Regions from separate parts of the Homo sapiens genome. Here regions 1, 3, 4 and 5 are each linked to region 2. The links are contacts of gene promoters, found by promoter capture Hi-C in blood cells and fetal thymus (Javierre and others, 2016). All regions are on one chromosome and are shown on one strand. The core of a region is centred on a gene start or on the middle of the fragment in contact, and the rest is flanking DNA. Distances in the headings are between cores, read along the strand shown. Region 1 has its middle 18 kb from the start of NDUFA8. Region 2 holds the start of OR1K1 (olfactory receptor family 1 subfamily K member 1). Region 3 overlaps MORN5 (MORN repeat containing 5). Region 4 holds the start of LHX6 (LIM homeobox 6). Region 5 overlaps LHX6 (LIM homeobox 6).

Region 1 (2,700 bases), core at 95-2,594, 660 kb after region 2:
CCTGACGTGCTAGGACAGTTCAAAGAAAAAGCACTGTGTGATCTGCCATGGCCGCTTCTGCACCTGGTGCTGACCCCACATCCGGAAGCATTTTGGATGCTTCCAGCAGAACCCCCACGTGTTCTGCAAAAGTTACTTGCCAACCAACTTTTGCCTCAGATTCTCTAATGAAAAATAAGACTTTTTTTTGCATTTTTTTCAATAGCTGAGGCAAAACCCACTAACGTTTTGGTGGCCAAGTAATTGGAATTCCCCTCTGGTGGGTAAGGTATGAGCATGGCTGCAGATTGGTGTTTATATGATACTTCAACCCACATGTTGCTTCCTAGGTTCCTTCTGCAAAGGAAGCTGGGCCTTGCATAAATAATAATATTGTGCACTGTGCTAAGTGCTTTACATGTTTCACCTCCTTCAATGCCCAGAGTCCTTTGAACGAGGTACTACAGGTCATATTCATTTTACAGATGAAGGAAGTTAAAGTTTAGCGAGAGGTTAAGAAGCCCCAGTCTCATATATAAGAAGTGGTAGATACAGGATACAAGTAAAGATTGTCTGGTTCCAATGGCCACACTCCTATTCTTCAAAGCCATGCGTGGTTCTCAGCTTTGAGTGCACATTGGAATCACCTGAGAGGCCTTTAAATCCTGATGTTTGGATCCTACCCGCAGAGATTCTGTTGTAATTGGTGTGTAGTGTGGCCTGGGCTTGGAATTTTTGAAAGCACTCCCAGCCTATTCCGATGTGAAGCCAAGGTGTAGAACGACATACTGATTTTAGACATGAGGAAGCAAGTACAGGAGGCTACCTGCTAGTAAGTAGTAAGTGGCTAAGCTGAGATTTAAACCCAGATACATCTGATTCCAAAGCCCCTACTCTCAAAATAAATGGGTGTATATGGAGATCCTAGTAAAATGATTTTGATTCAGTAGGTCTGCGGTAGGTCCTGAGATTTCTAATAAGCTGTTTCTTGGTGCTAAGGGCACTGGTCCATAGATCACACAGGTAATGAGGGAATAAACCATACCGTCTTTCTGAGAAGGATCTATGACTAATTTACCTGCTGCAACTTCTAGCACTGTTCACTCCCCAAATGTTAATTCACCTCTTTAGAACCAGAGCAACGCGTCTTGAACTGTTAATGGTTTCAAATTCAATTCTAGGATGTAACTTTTGCCCAAGTTGGACAGCAGTTCTTGCCTCCCCCCTCCCCACCTTGCTTTGAATTCCTTGAACAAAGAAACTGACTTTTGGCTTTCCTGTACTCGCGATGGGATTACACGACATCATAGCCTTCTAGGACAGAAGAGTCTAAGTAATTAAATATAATAATTTCTTAAGTCTCTCACAACAAGTGCCTGTCTCAATTTCAGTAGGTAAAAGGTCACAGAACAATTGGAAAGCAGTTAGTGGGAAGGATTCCTGAACAGGACTTCAAATAATAGAAAATCTTCCTGGTGGTTTGGCTTGAGAATAATGAGATGAATTCCTTATATCCCCAAAGGAAATTTATCTGACTCCTTTCCTCTGCCAAGCCTGTTCCTGTCTTCCCTATCTGAGTTAATGGTGTCTCCATCCTCCCAGTGTCAAATAACCTGAGATGCATCTTTGACTCTTCGGTTTACTCCAAGTTCCAATCCAACATCAAGTCCTGTTGAGTTTCTTCTGTAATCGCTCTCATTTGCTACTTCCTGTTTTATCTCACTGTCACTTTCCTAGGCTGTTTTTGTTCCCCTTGCCTGGATTATTAAATGACTTCCTAAGTGGTCTCCCATTGCCATCTCCCTCTCCAGTCCATCCTCAAGTTTGCTCCACGTGCCTCTGCTACTCAGAAGCCTTCAGGGGCTCACGAATGGCTGCTAACTAAAGCCCAAATCCTTACTGGCATTCTGACACTCCATAACCTGGCCCTAGCCTAGCCCATTTCCCCATCATTATCTTACTTCTTCTTATGTAGCCTATACTCTACAGCATGCTATTCATCAAGAATTTTTAGATCTTCACGAATGCTATCCCCTTGCCAGGAAACAGTCCTTCCCCGTAGCTGCCTCTTGAAAGTCTACCCATCTCTAAAGGCAAACACGAATGGTGTCTTTCCCAGGAAGTATCCCCTTCCTACAGCCAAAAATGGTCTTTCCTGCCCCTTTGTTCCCGTGACACAATGTAGTATGATGGTTGGGCATGAGGGCTCTAGAGTTGGGCTGTCTGGATTTGAATCCAGGCTCTGGTCATTTAATGGCTGTGTGACCCTAGAGAAGATACTTAACCTTTCTGTACCTTATAGTCCTCATCTGTAAAATAGAAGGGGAAGGAGATGACAGTAATAGTACCTGCCTTCTGGGATGGCTATGAGTATATAGTGAGTTACACACACAAAATGCATAGTAGAGGGTTGATAAATGGTAGCATTGTTATAAGACTGTATTTGAGTAACACCTGTCGTGACCCTGGCTGTGTCTTACCTCTCCTGTTCTCAGTGCTGCAAGAGTTGGACTTCTATCTTATTTCTATTTCTATATCCTAGTGCCCAGTATATGACAAACATCCAGGAAATGATTAACTGTACACGAAGTTTACCTTTCCAGAGGACTTCCAAACCCTTTACGTGCTGTAAAACCACAAACAAAAAATTACTTGTAGGTAGAAATGCGAGTAACTCTTTGAGGTTACATTGCCATCTTTGTAGATATCAAATCCTAGCTG
Region 2 (2,700 bases), core at 91-2,590:
GCCGCCATGCTTGGCTAATTTTGGTATTTGTAATAGAGACAGGGTTTCGCCATGTTGGCCAGGCTGATCTTGAACTCTCGACCTCAGGTGATCCACCACCTCGGCTTCTCAAAGTGCTGGGATTACAGGCGTGAGCCGCTGTGCCTGGCTGGAAAGTCACTTCTTATCTTTGAGCCTAAAGACAAATTTTCTTGTGTGTAAAACCGGATCATAATATCTGCATCCTGGGTGGCTGTGGGAATAAAATGAGATCAGGCAAGGATCTGCTTCCGGGCAGGTGCTCAGGAAATGACAGCTGTTATGATTTTTGAGCATAGCAGAGGACAGAGGGTCACGTTCAACAGTTGCCAGTGTGGGTGATGCAGTCTGTCCTCAGTGGGGTCCTGCCCTCAGGAGTCACTAGCTGAGATCCTTCGCCCAATGAGAAGGGCTCGGAGTGCCCCCTGTACATCGCGATTCCAGAGGCTGTAGATGATGGGGTTCAGCATGGGGGTGACTACAGTGTACATGACAGTGGCCACACGGCCCCACTCTGCCTCGCGTCGGGATGTGGCCTGGAAGTAGACTGCAATGACTGTCCCATAGAAGAGGCTCACCACAGCCAGGTGGGAGCCACAGGTGGACACAGCCCGGAGCCTCCCAGAGGCTGAGGGCAGCTGGAGCACGGCAGCTGCGATGGCCCCATAGGAGGCGAGGATGAGCAGGAAGGGAGTGACCACCACTGCGGCGCCCTCGGTGAAGATGAGCAGCTGGATGTGGTGGGTGTCAGAGCACGAGAGCCTTAAGAGAGGCTGGTGGTCACAGAAGAAGTGGGGCACTTGGTGGGAAGCACAGAAGGACAAGCGAGCCATGAGCAGGATATACAGGAGGGAGTGGACGTGGGACACCAGCCATGCCATTCCCACCAGGGCTGCGCACATGGCCCGGGACATCCTCGTGGCATAGGGGAGGGGGTGCCGGATGGCCACGTAGCAGTCATAGGCCATGGCCGCCAGAAGACAGCTATCAGTTACCCCCAGGGCAAAGAAGAAGTACATTTGGGTCAGGCAGCCAGCCAGCGAGATGGAGTGGTCATGGGCCAACAAGTTGGCCAACATCTTGGGCACAGTGACGGAGGCGAAGCAGAGGTCAGCAAAGGACAGGTGGGCCAGCAGGAAGTACATGGGTGCATGAAGGGCTGGACTGGCCTGGATGGCAGCCACAATGAGTCCATTACCCAGGAGGCTGGCCACATACAAGAGCAAGAACAGCACAAAGAGAGGCCGCTGCTGTCCAGGACTTGTTGTCAGTCCCAATAAAACGAATGAGATTCCCTCTGAAGACTCATTGGCAGCCTCCATGGCAGGCTGGTTATTCGCCTGGAACCTGAAGGGCTCCTTTCTATTGATGGGTCACCTCCCCGATGTCTAACGGAAAAGGTGAGGGGATAAATTGTTCAAGGCTTCCTGGCCATGGGAAAATATCAAGAGTTTAGAGTCAGGTAGCCCTGGCCCTAGGCACAGGTATGACTATGGGCAAGTCATTTCACCTCCCTGAACCTTCTTCCTTTCTGGGCCTTAGATTTTCTTTTCTTTTTTTTTTTTTTTTTTTGAGATGGAGTCTTGCTCTGTCGCCCAGGCTGGAGTGCAGTGGCACGATCTCAGCTCACTGCAAGCTCCACCTCCTGGGTTCACGCCATTCTCCTGCCTCAGCCTCCCGAGTAGCTGGGACTACAGGCGCCCGCCATCACGCCCGGCTAATTTTTTTTGTATTTTTTAGTAGAGACGGGGTTTCACCGTGTTAGCCAGGATGTTCTCGATCTCCTGACCTTGTGGGGCCTTAGACTTTCAACCTGCGAAATAAGAGAATTGAAGTAACTCATCTGCAAGGTCACGTCCAACTTTGATAGTTTGTGATTTAAGCAAAAATAGAACAAAAGATATTGCACAAGATGTAGATCAGGGAAGGAGGAAAATATGAAAGAAAAGATGAAACAGAGTGAGGTTCGACACAGAAAGATCTGGCCAATGGACATTTATTTTGGAAAAGAAAAAATGAAACCAAACCAAGATGGAGGAGAGAAACATAAGAAAGAAACTCTAGAAAAAAAATCTGAAGAGCACATATGTTTACATTGAAATGAATATGAACTCACAACACCTAGACACAAATAGTGGAATTTTAGAACACTGGAAATGAAGAGGAGACTCCAGTACTTCCTAAGGGCATGGGGTGCAATGAACTGATGATATCCATGTAATTAGATTGCCATCAAATGTTTCAATTCAACAGTAGATTATAGAACAGTTTAACAATATTCAAATTCTGAAAAAAAGCATTTCGAACTTGGAATTCTTCACTCAGCAAAAATACTACTCAAGTGTGAGTAAAGAATACAGATATTTTCAGACTTAAAACACAAAACAAGGCCGGGTGCAGTGGCTCGTGCCTGTAATCCCAGCACTTTGGGAGGCCAAGGTAGGAGGATCACCTGAGGTCAGGAGTTTGAGACCAGCCTGGCCAATGTGGTGAAACCCCATCTCTACTAAAAAAAAAAATACAAAAATTAGCCAGGTGTGGTGTCACGTGCCTGTAATCCCAGCTACTTGGGAGGCTGGGGCAGGAGAATATCTTGAACCCAGGAGGCAGAGGTTGCAGTGAGCCAAGATCGTGCCACTGCACTCCAGCCTGGGTGGCACAGTGAGACTCCATCTCACACAC
Region 3 (2,700 bases), core at 59-2,558, 630 kb after region 2:
CATGAAGGCCAAATCCAAACCCAGTGTTCCCATAAGGTCCACTTGTGGCTGGTGGCTCATGTGACTATCTGGCTCCCCTGTTGAACTAAATACCCCCTACTCAGGGCAAGAAGCAAACCCAGCAGAAACGGTGCCCCAAAGGAACTTTCTGAACATGGCTCTTGGGAACAGGGTCTTGGGAACGAGACCCTCTGTCTTCTTCTTCCTTTGACCCCATCCTCCTCCATTTCTTCGGATACCATGACAAAGGGCACAGGTTCTGAAGTTAGACAGACCCTGAGGGTAAGTCAGAGTTGGCAAATGGATAGGAGAGCATCAGATCCAGAAGAGGGGTGGCATTCAAAGCGTGGGCAGAGGCCAGAGGCATGGATCCTTAAGCCCCACTCTGGAAACCTTGTAGAGCAGAGCACGTATGAAGGAGAACAGCAGAAAAGAAATGGATCAGGTGGACAAGGGGCAGGTGGTGGAGAACTTTGACTCTTGCCAAAATTACCACGGTGGCTGCCACTCATTGAATGTTTATTATGTGCCAGGCATTGTGCTCCTCTTTTATTTAATCCTGAGAGCAGCTCTGTGGCTCCATTTTACAGATAAGAAAACTGAGGCTCAGAGAAGTTAAAGTAACTTTCCCAAGGTTATCCAGCTAGGAAGCAGTCCAGCTCTGGAACCTGTATGTTCAGCTGCCAACATCAGGGGAGGAGACAGCCTAGGTGCAGCCACAGGACCAGGGACACTGAGACCTCTGGGAGAGAAAGAAGATTGAGTGCACCTTTTAGGTCATGCACGCTAGGTATGTGTATCTTGAAACGCCATGGCTCAAGTAAAGGGAGAGGTTGGAATAAATAACTTCTCAGGTTCCTTCTAACTATAGTTCCTGTAATTCCTTGTTCTCTAGACTGAGAGCTGGATGCCCACTGAGCACACAGCACCATGCCCACAACTCAGTGTCTTGCACACAGTAGGTACTCTTGTGTTGCTTAATGACATACCTAACCGTAACCCTGACACTGACCCTGATCCTAAACCTAACCCCATATGTACTGGCTAATGACTACTGAGCACTTACTCCATGTCAAGCACTTTACAGCCATTCTCTCACCAAAGCCTCATGCCAATGCCCATCTCACAGATGCTCGAAGAGGTCGCGGGGCACTTTTAACCCTCACCCTGCCTTGCAGGCAGGGCGAGTTGCCCTAACAATGCCAGCCCCAAGAGGCAAAGTGTGGAGTGACAAGGGAAGGAAGTAGCTACTTAGAATCAAGCTGCTCTTCTGAGGGTCACAGGAGAAGTAGGGGAGAGCCAGGCATGTTCGGGGAGAGCCAGGCAGGTTCGGGAAATGCCACCACGAGACTGGCAGAGGCTTAGCTTTAGCATAACCAGCCATTGTGTGAGAGCTAAGGCTTAAGGCTGAGGGCTTTTTGCCTACAGCCTTAATTGGGGTGAAGAGCCCATGGCAAAGTCCAGGCCTCCCATCATAACTAATTCGGGAGGAGTGATTTGCAAGGTTCTCAAGCTGCAGCTAGACTGGCAGCTCTTTGAAGGGAGAGATGATGTCCTCTTAACTCTGGTCTCCCTGGGTCCAGCCAGCGTCTGACATACAGTAGGAGCTTAGGAAATATTTCTTAATGTCATTGCCTTAACTCCCCTAAGCACATACTTCACCCTGCACTGTGATGTCAGTATCATTATCCCTGTTTGACAATAACTCTTTAACGAGTACCCACTGTATGCCAGACAATGTGCTAGGGCCCTGCCCTCATGTTGCTCACAGCTTGGGAAGACGAGCTGAACACTCACGATCCAAGCCCTGGGAGGAGGTCATGGCTGCTGTGATATGCCACAGGGAGACCTTACCTAGTGTGGGAATTCAGGGAAGGGGCTCCCAGCTTCAGGACGTTGAGCTGAGAACTGAAGTACGGGAAGGAGTTATTTGGGTGAAGTAAGAGGGTTAAAGTATTCCAGGCAGAGAGAATGGCAGGAAAAAGTGTGGTCTCTTTGAGAAACAGAAAGAAAGCAAGTATCGCAAGAGGGGAGAGAGAAAAACCGAGAAGGGTGGGTAGCCTAGGATGAGGCTGGGACATGAGCAGGAGCCAGAGAATGTCACTGTTTCTGAGAATTTGAAACCTTATCTTGAGGGTATAGGGAGCACTCAAGGGGCGGGGCGGGAGGGAGGCAATCAGATTCACACTTTAAAAGATGTAAGCGGCCGGGCATGGTGGCTCACGCCTGTAATCCCAAGTTAAGGAGGGAAGGTTGCTTGAGGCCAGGAGTTCTAGATGAGCCTGGGCAACATGGCAACACCCATCTCTACAAGAAACTTAAAAAAAAAAAAAAAATTAACCAGGAGTGGTGGCGCATTCCTGTAGTTCCAGCTACTTAGGAGGCCAGATCACTTGGCAGGAGGATCGCTTGAGCCCAGGAGTTCAAAGTTACAGTGAGCTATGATCATACCACTGCACTCCAGCCTGGGCAACAGAGCAAGACTCTGTCTCAAAAAAAAAAAAAAAAAAAAAAAAAAGATGGAAGTGACTGCAGAATGGAGAATGACCTCAAGGGCGCCAAGTGGGGATCTCCGGAGTCAGGTCATCAAGGGGAAAGATGATGGAGGGCTGGAACAGGGCAGTGGCAAAGAGTATGAAGAGAATGCTGCCTGGCACATGGAAGTGCTCAATAAATATTTGTTGAATAAACAAATAAAGT
Region 4 (2,700 bases), core at 174-2,673, 570 kb after region 2:
AAGGAACAGATATTTGTATCTTTGGGGAATATGGGTGTGGATCTTTAGTATCGTGTTGGTGTGCAGGCATCCTCTACTACCTGCGCCTGTCAGAACCTGCCTGTGTGTGTGCAAACTGAGACTATAACTATTGGGAATCTATGGCTGCAGAAGTGTGTGTGATGTGTCTGCCTATAAATGCCTATCAATAGTTGTCTCACCATCTGTAAGGATGTAAGTACATATTTGAGGGTGCCTGAGTAGAGGACATAAGGTTATACATGGGTTTGGAGCTCTGTGAAAATCTGTGCCCTCTTGAGTATGGCTGTGTGTACAAATGGAAGAACAATTGTGTGTGGGGGGGTGTTTACATCTGTAAATGAGGGCAATTATGGAGGTGATGACATGTGTGATGTGGTGAGGGTAGGCTGTCATGGTGTCTGTAGGGCTGGATCTATGTCTGAGTGTGCTTATTTGTTTTTAGATGATGTATGTTTACATGTGTCTCTTTAGGCTCAGTTTGTGTGTGGAGAAGGGGGCTGAGACTCTAAGTGTCCACTTGTGTATGCTGCAGGGCGTTAGTGTGTGTAAGGCTCCATCTTTGGGTTTGAAGGTTCTGTGTCTGTGTGTCTGGGGGCAGTGTCTTCTGTCTAAATGCCTGGGCCTTCCTGCCTTCCCTACCATTCTCATTGTCAGTAGAACCCTAGAGAAGAAGGGATGGGCATTGGACTGTGTGGTTAAGCAAATCCTGAAGGGAAGGGGAATGTGCCAAGCAATCCCTTCCAAGAGAATTCAGGGAAACTACCCTCCCGTTTCACCTCAGTCCCTGGGAGCTGGTGCACTGTCTGGTTCTTATAGAGCAGAGGTATCTGTGCAGGTGTGTGAGAGTAAGTGTGGTGCCTCGTGCCCGTGTAAATGATGTGAACAGGTAATCACTTACATTAGTGTGTACACAAATGTACCAGGCATGGGATTGCATCAACACAGTGTAATAACGTGTGACCTCCTACGGAATCTATCTCCGCAGATGGTATGGCCATGGGTCCCTCCTGTACCTGTGAGTGGGGCAGTGTCTGAGGAAGATGGGTGCCCCTTGAGGGAGGAGCGGTAGTGAGAGCTGGGTGGATGTGTGCCCGCCGGTGCCTTTGTGTACTGGCGTGTCTCCGAGTCTCTCTGTCGGCAGCTCTGAGTTTCTGTGTGTCTCTGTGTCTGTGTGTGTGTCTCTCTCTCTGGGTCTCTGCCTCGTCGTGTGTGTCTTGCTCTCCCTTGGCGGGGAGGGGATTGGTCACGCATGACTCATCTTGAACCGAGCGGGGCTCCAGCGGCAGGGCGGCCGCCGTTGCAGCTGGAGGGGGAGGAGGACAAGGAGGAGGGAGAGGAGGAGGAGGACTACCAAGAGGGGGAGGAGGAGAAGAAGGAGGGGGCGGGGGCCTCTCCAAGTTTGTCGGGACCTTCTTCCGAGGCAGCGGCGGCAGCAGCCAGGGAGGCCGGGGCTGCGCGCGGGCCGGGGGCGGGGGCTGAGGCCGGGCCCGGGGCGGCGGGGCCGGCGCCTCGGCTCTCCTCCTGCTCCTGCAGCAGCCTCTGCTCCCACTGCGGCTGTGGTCCCCCTCGGCGCAGCTCTCCGCGCTGCGCGCCCGCTGAGCCCGAGGTTCCCCGGCCCATGTACTGGAAGCATGAGAACGCCGCCCCGGCGTTGCCCGAGGGCTGCCGGCTGCCGGCCGAGGGCGGCCCCGCCACCGACCAGGTGAGCCGGCGAACGACTGGGTGAGCGGCCCGGGCCGGGGTCGGGCAGGGTCCGGGACCCAGCCGGGCCGAGCAGGGTGGCGGGCGGTTGCAGGAAGGAGGGGTACGAGGGTGCGCCTGTGAGTGTGTGCTTGTGAGTGTGGGAGCGCGCGCGCGAGCGGGGGGGGGGGGTCGCGGAAAGCGGGAACACATTATGCAAATGTTGGAGGAATTTCTCAAAAAGCGATTTAGTAAAGACACAGGCGAATCAAGAGGAGGCGAGGCCGGTATTGTCCGTCTGAATAGGCGCTGATAGCGCCGATGCGCCGGGGGTTGTGCCGGCGCAGCGCTGAGAATCCCGACGCGGGGCCGGTACCCGGCGCGCCGAGGGGCTGGAGGGTGCTTTTTCCTCCCCTTGAGCGCCTCTCTTTTCTCTTTTTGGTCCCGTTTCGCCCCGATCTCGCTCTCTTTTTGCTCCGGGTTTCCCTCCGACTGGCCCTCGAAAGGCGCCTGAATCCGTGTCAATATAGCTGCTTCAATTTCGCCGCGCGTGTCAGGCGGGCGGGCGGGCGGGTGCTCACCGCGCTCGGGGTTTTCTTTTCTTCAACCACCCTCCGCCCCTCACCCATCTCTTTTTTATTTTCTTTCTTTCTCTCTTTTCTCCTTTTTGCATTTTGTGCCGAGAGGAGAAGGGAGCGAGGAAGGGGAGTGGGGTGGGGGGGCGGGTGGAGAGAGAAAAAATTCGATTTTTAATTACTACCATTAAAAAATCAAATTTGCAATTCTTTGGGCGGCCTGATGGATCTCACTGATTGACAGTTGGAATTGACACTCTGGCTACCTCTTATCTTGGGCATTCACGACAATTTCTAATTGCAGGTAGTTTGTGTGTGTGTGCGCGTGTTTTTCTTCCCCCCTCAGAGGCTTGGATTGCAAGGGAACTAAGCGATTACTTCAAGAGCCACGGGTTAAGTGCAGGGAGAGGGGGAGAGAGAGGGA
Region 5 (2,700 bases), core at 182-2,681, 600 kb after region 2:
TTACTACTTCCTTGGAACCATCTCTGAATTCTGAATAGCTGACAACCCCCAATGTTATCCACTCTGTTGCTTTTGTCTGGAAAACTCTACAGTGTTTGTGGGATGTCCCCAAAGGAAAGCTATGTTCTAATTTTATCATTTCCATCTGTCTGGTTATGTCAAGTTAATTCAGAAAGAGAAGAGACAGTGACCAACCCTGAGAGGCCTAATAGGGCAGAGATGGAGGCCTGCCCAGACTAGGAGGCAGCGGGGATAGACAGGGAATGGGGAGAAGAAAGACCCCCATTGGTTTGGAAATCAAGGAGAGGGCGGTGACATATTGGACCAGAAGAGGCACTAGCCATTTTAAGGAGAGGAAAGAGAAAACTCTGGGGTCAGGGAGAGACCCTACCCCCACCTAATTATCCAGCATATATGTAAGAAACATAGCAGCGATGGTATTCGATCTGTGCCATGACTCTTCTGAATGTTTGGACAGGTTAGAGTTGGGGACCCCTGTTGGCCACTTGTTGACCTCTCATAGTGGTGCTTGGGCCAGGTCTTCTCAATGGAAGGGGAATCCCTTATAGGGGAGAGGGAACAGAGCCCAGTGAAATGGCAGTCAGAATGTTAACCCTGGATCCATCTCTAAGTAGAGAGAGGGTGCCCATTGCCTAGGTGAGTGTGCCAAGCTCAGGATTCCAACTGGTGCCTCTGAGCTTCCCAATCAATACTTCCTGGAGCCAGCCCCACCCACCCCTGAGAACAGAGGTCAGACACAGCTGCGTAACATCCATCCTGCTACAACTCTTCCACCCCAAACAAAAGGGCTCAGGCTACACACGACCATGATTTATGTTTTCAGGGGATGCCCATTTGTCCCAAGCTTATCCTGTAATTCTAGAATTACCTGGTGTCCTGATGCATTTTCCACTAGAGGTTGCTAATCAGCATGTTTTAGCCCAAGTCCGCCTTCCTGCTGTGGTTAACCTGTTATGTTGCTTTTGGAAGGAGACTCTAAGACAGGGAAAGCAAGTTCATGGTACATACGCAGCCATTGTCTCTGTTTTTACCCATGGCAGACATTGCTAATCAATGGCAGCTCTATTTCACTGAGTCTGGATAAGGTTTCAGAGTTCAAATGCTTGACGTTGGCACTTAACATGAAAGCCTATAGGTCATTCTTGCTCTGGGATCTACAGGCAGGGTAGGCACAGGTGCAGCCTAAGAAGGGAACCTGCTTCCTCTCCCTTCCAAAGACAGTGACAGCTGACTGAGGGCAAAGAGCAGGCACCACTCAGAACGTGGTGAGTACAGCTCAGCTCAGCACTCAGTCAGTGGTAACTTGTGCCCAGCCCTGTGCTAGGCGCTGACATTAACAGGAGCAACCAGGGCCCAATTCCTGGCCTTGGAGCTCAAATCTTTCCTTTGATTTTTGCTCCTGATCATCAAGGCCCCAGTGGCAACCATGTGGTAAGTGGCCAACCAAGCCCTACCCAGGGTCACCCAACACACTCTGCCTTGAGCCTCTCCTCAGGGTCTATTCCTTGCGTGGATTATGTGGCCGTAGCATGTTACAGTTCAAACATGTCTCCACTACCCTGTTAAGAGCAGCCTGGGAACGTACAGGCCATCAAGACTATTTATTTAAATACAAAAAAAGGGGAAAACACACACACGGAAAAAAAATTGTAAGCACTTTTTTTGTAAAACCAATGTCTGTTTTGTTACATACCTTTCATGTCGTGCTTTGTAAATGTCTTATTTGTGTAATAAAGTTAATGCAAGTAGAAGTGCTGGCACTGAAATCCAGAACATGATGGGATTCCATTTCTTTCCTGCTCTCTGGTGAAGGGCTTAGGTCCCTGGCTCCCAGAATATGTGGGCTGCTGGACAGTGTAATCCTCCTTCCTGGGAAACGGGTACCATTTCCCAGTTAGTAAACAATGGATTGTGGAGGCCTGACGATGGGTTTCTTCTGTAAGTACTCAGTCACACCTGCTTCTTATCTAAGCTTTGGAGGAAATCAGGCTGCTTGATGCCCTCTGTTCCAGTCTCTGAACATACACTCTCTGCTGGGCCCTGTGCTGGCTCTGCACACTGAGAAAAGGCTCCCAGCCAGACCTTGTCCTGGAGGAGCTCTCAGTCTGGCAAATACTGTGGGAGCCAAGGGGGTGGGTGTTAAAGCTGGATCCTATCAGATGAGAAGGTCACAGAATAGGTAAGCAAGAGGGTGGGGCAGGGAGGGAGGTGCAGAGGAGCGTGTTTGGAAGATGGGGAAGAATTTAATAAGGTGAAGTTAAGGGAATATGGAACGGGCAGCAGGGCCCCAGGTTCTGCACAAGACTGGGTCTTATAGTGGTTTTGTCAGGCTCCAGAGCCACCACCTCATAACCTGAGGAGTGAGAGAGCGCATCTTTTTGGTGGTTGTCAAATTTCTTTCAGCAGCAGAGTCATTTGCTCAAGCCAAAGCTCCTGGTGTGGAGAGCACAGCTGCCCTGCAGAATGCAGAGGCTTCCCTGGCCTGCTGTGGCCCTGCACAGAAATGAGTTGCTCAGAAACCTCAGCTCATGGTGCACATGAGTCACTGACTGCAGGGCCCCTCTCTCTATTCTACTAGTTTTTAAATCTCCCATCCCTGATTCCATTTCTGCTCCTCATACATCTGCTCTTCCAATCCATTTTCAAGTGTTTAGATATATGTGTATCTTTGAAAATATA

What was found. The method cuts DNA at HindIII sites, captures the fragments that hold promoters and counts their contacts. A CHiCAGO score of 5 or more calls a contact.
Region 1: a contact is called between a fragment that was not itself captured here and the fragment with the promoter of OR1K1 in region 2, in 2 of 17 cell types (non-activated CD4 T cells and activated CD4 T cells). The highest score is 6.2, in non-activated CD4 T cells.
Region 3: a fragment that was not itself captured here is called in contact with the fragment with the promoter of OR1K1 in region 2 in 2 of 17 cell types (total CD8 T cells and M1 macrophages); the score reaches 5.4 in total CD8 T cells.
Region 4: the fragment with the promoter of LHX6 here is called in contact with the fragment with the promoter of OR1K1 in region 2 in 8 of 17 cell types (naive CD8 T cells, naive CD4 T cells, erythroblasts and 5 more); the score reaches 8.8 in naive CD8 T cells.
Region 5: a fragment that was not itself captured here is called in contact with the fragment with the promoter of OR1K1 in region 2 in 1 of 17 cell types (erythroblasts); the score reaches 5.1 in erythroblasts.

What each region holds. Positions count from the first base shown.
Region 1 is chr9:122,140,416-122,143,115 of GRCh38, reverse strand. It overlaps a transcript of NDUFA8 not described here. Among named protein-coding and RNA genes, the nearest start is that of NDUFA8, 18 kb to the left of the region's middle. The HindIII fragment of the contact is 6,633 bases long and covers 1-2,700 here.
Region 2 is chr9:122,798,763-122,801,462 of GRCh38, reverse strand. It overlaps OR1K1 (olfactory receptor family 1 subfamily K member 1), which reads right to left and starts at 1,340. Exons shown (of 1, transcript NM_080859.1): 1 at 390-1,340. The coding sequence starts at 1,340. The coding sequence ends at 390. The HindIII fragment of the contact is 11,918 bases long and covers 1-2,700 here.
Region 3 is chr9:122,171,765-122,174,464 of GRCh38, reverse strand. All of the region lies in intron 3 of MORN5 (MORN repeat containing 5), which reads right to left. Among named protein-coding and RNA genes, the nearest start is that of MORN5, 13 kb to the right of the region's middle. The HindIII fragment of the contact is 3,137 bases long and covers 1-2,700 here.
Region 4 is chr9:122,227,680-122,230,379 of GRCh38, reverse strand. It overlaps LHX6 (LIM homeobox 6), which reads left to right and starts at 1,423. Exons shown (of 10, transcript NM_014368.5): 1 at 1,423-1,723. The coding sequence starts at 1,640. The HindIII fragment of the contact is 4,848 bases long and covers 1-2,700 here.
Region 5 is chr9:122,201,673-122,204,372 of GRCh38, reverse strand. It overlaps LHX6 (LIM homeobox 6), which reads left to right. Exons shown (of 10, transcript NM_014368.5): 10 at 1-1,791. Among named protein-coding and RNA genes, the nearest start is that of LHX6, 26 kb to the left of the region's middle. The HindIII fragment of the contact is 1,128 bases long and covers 868-1,995 here.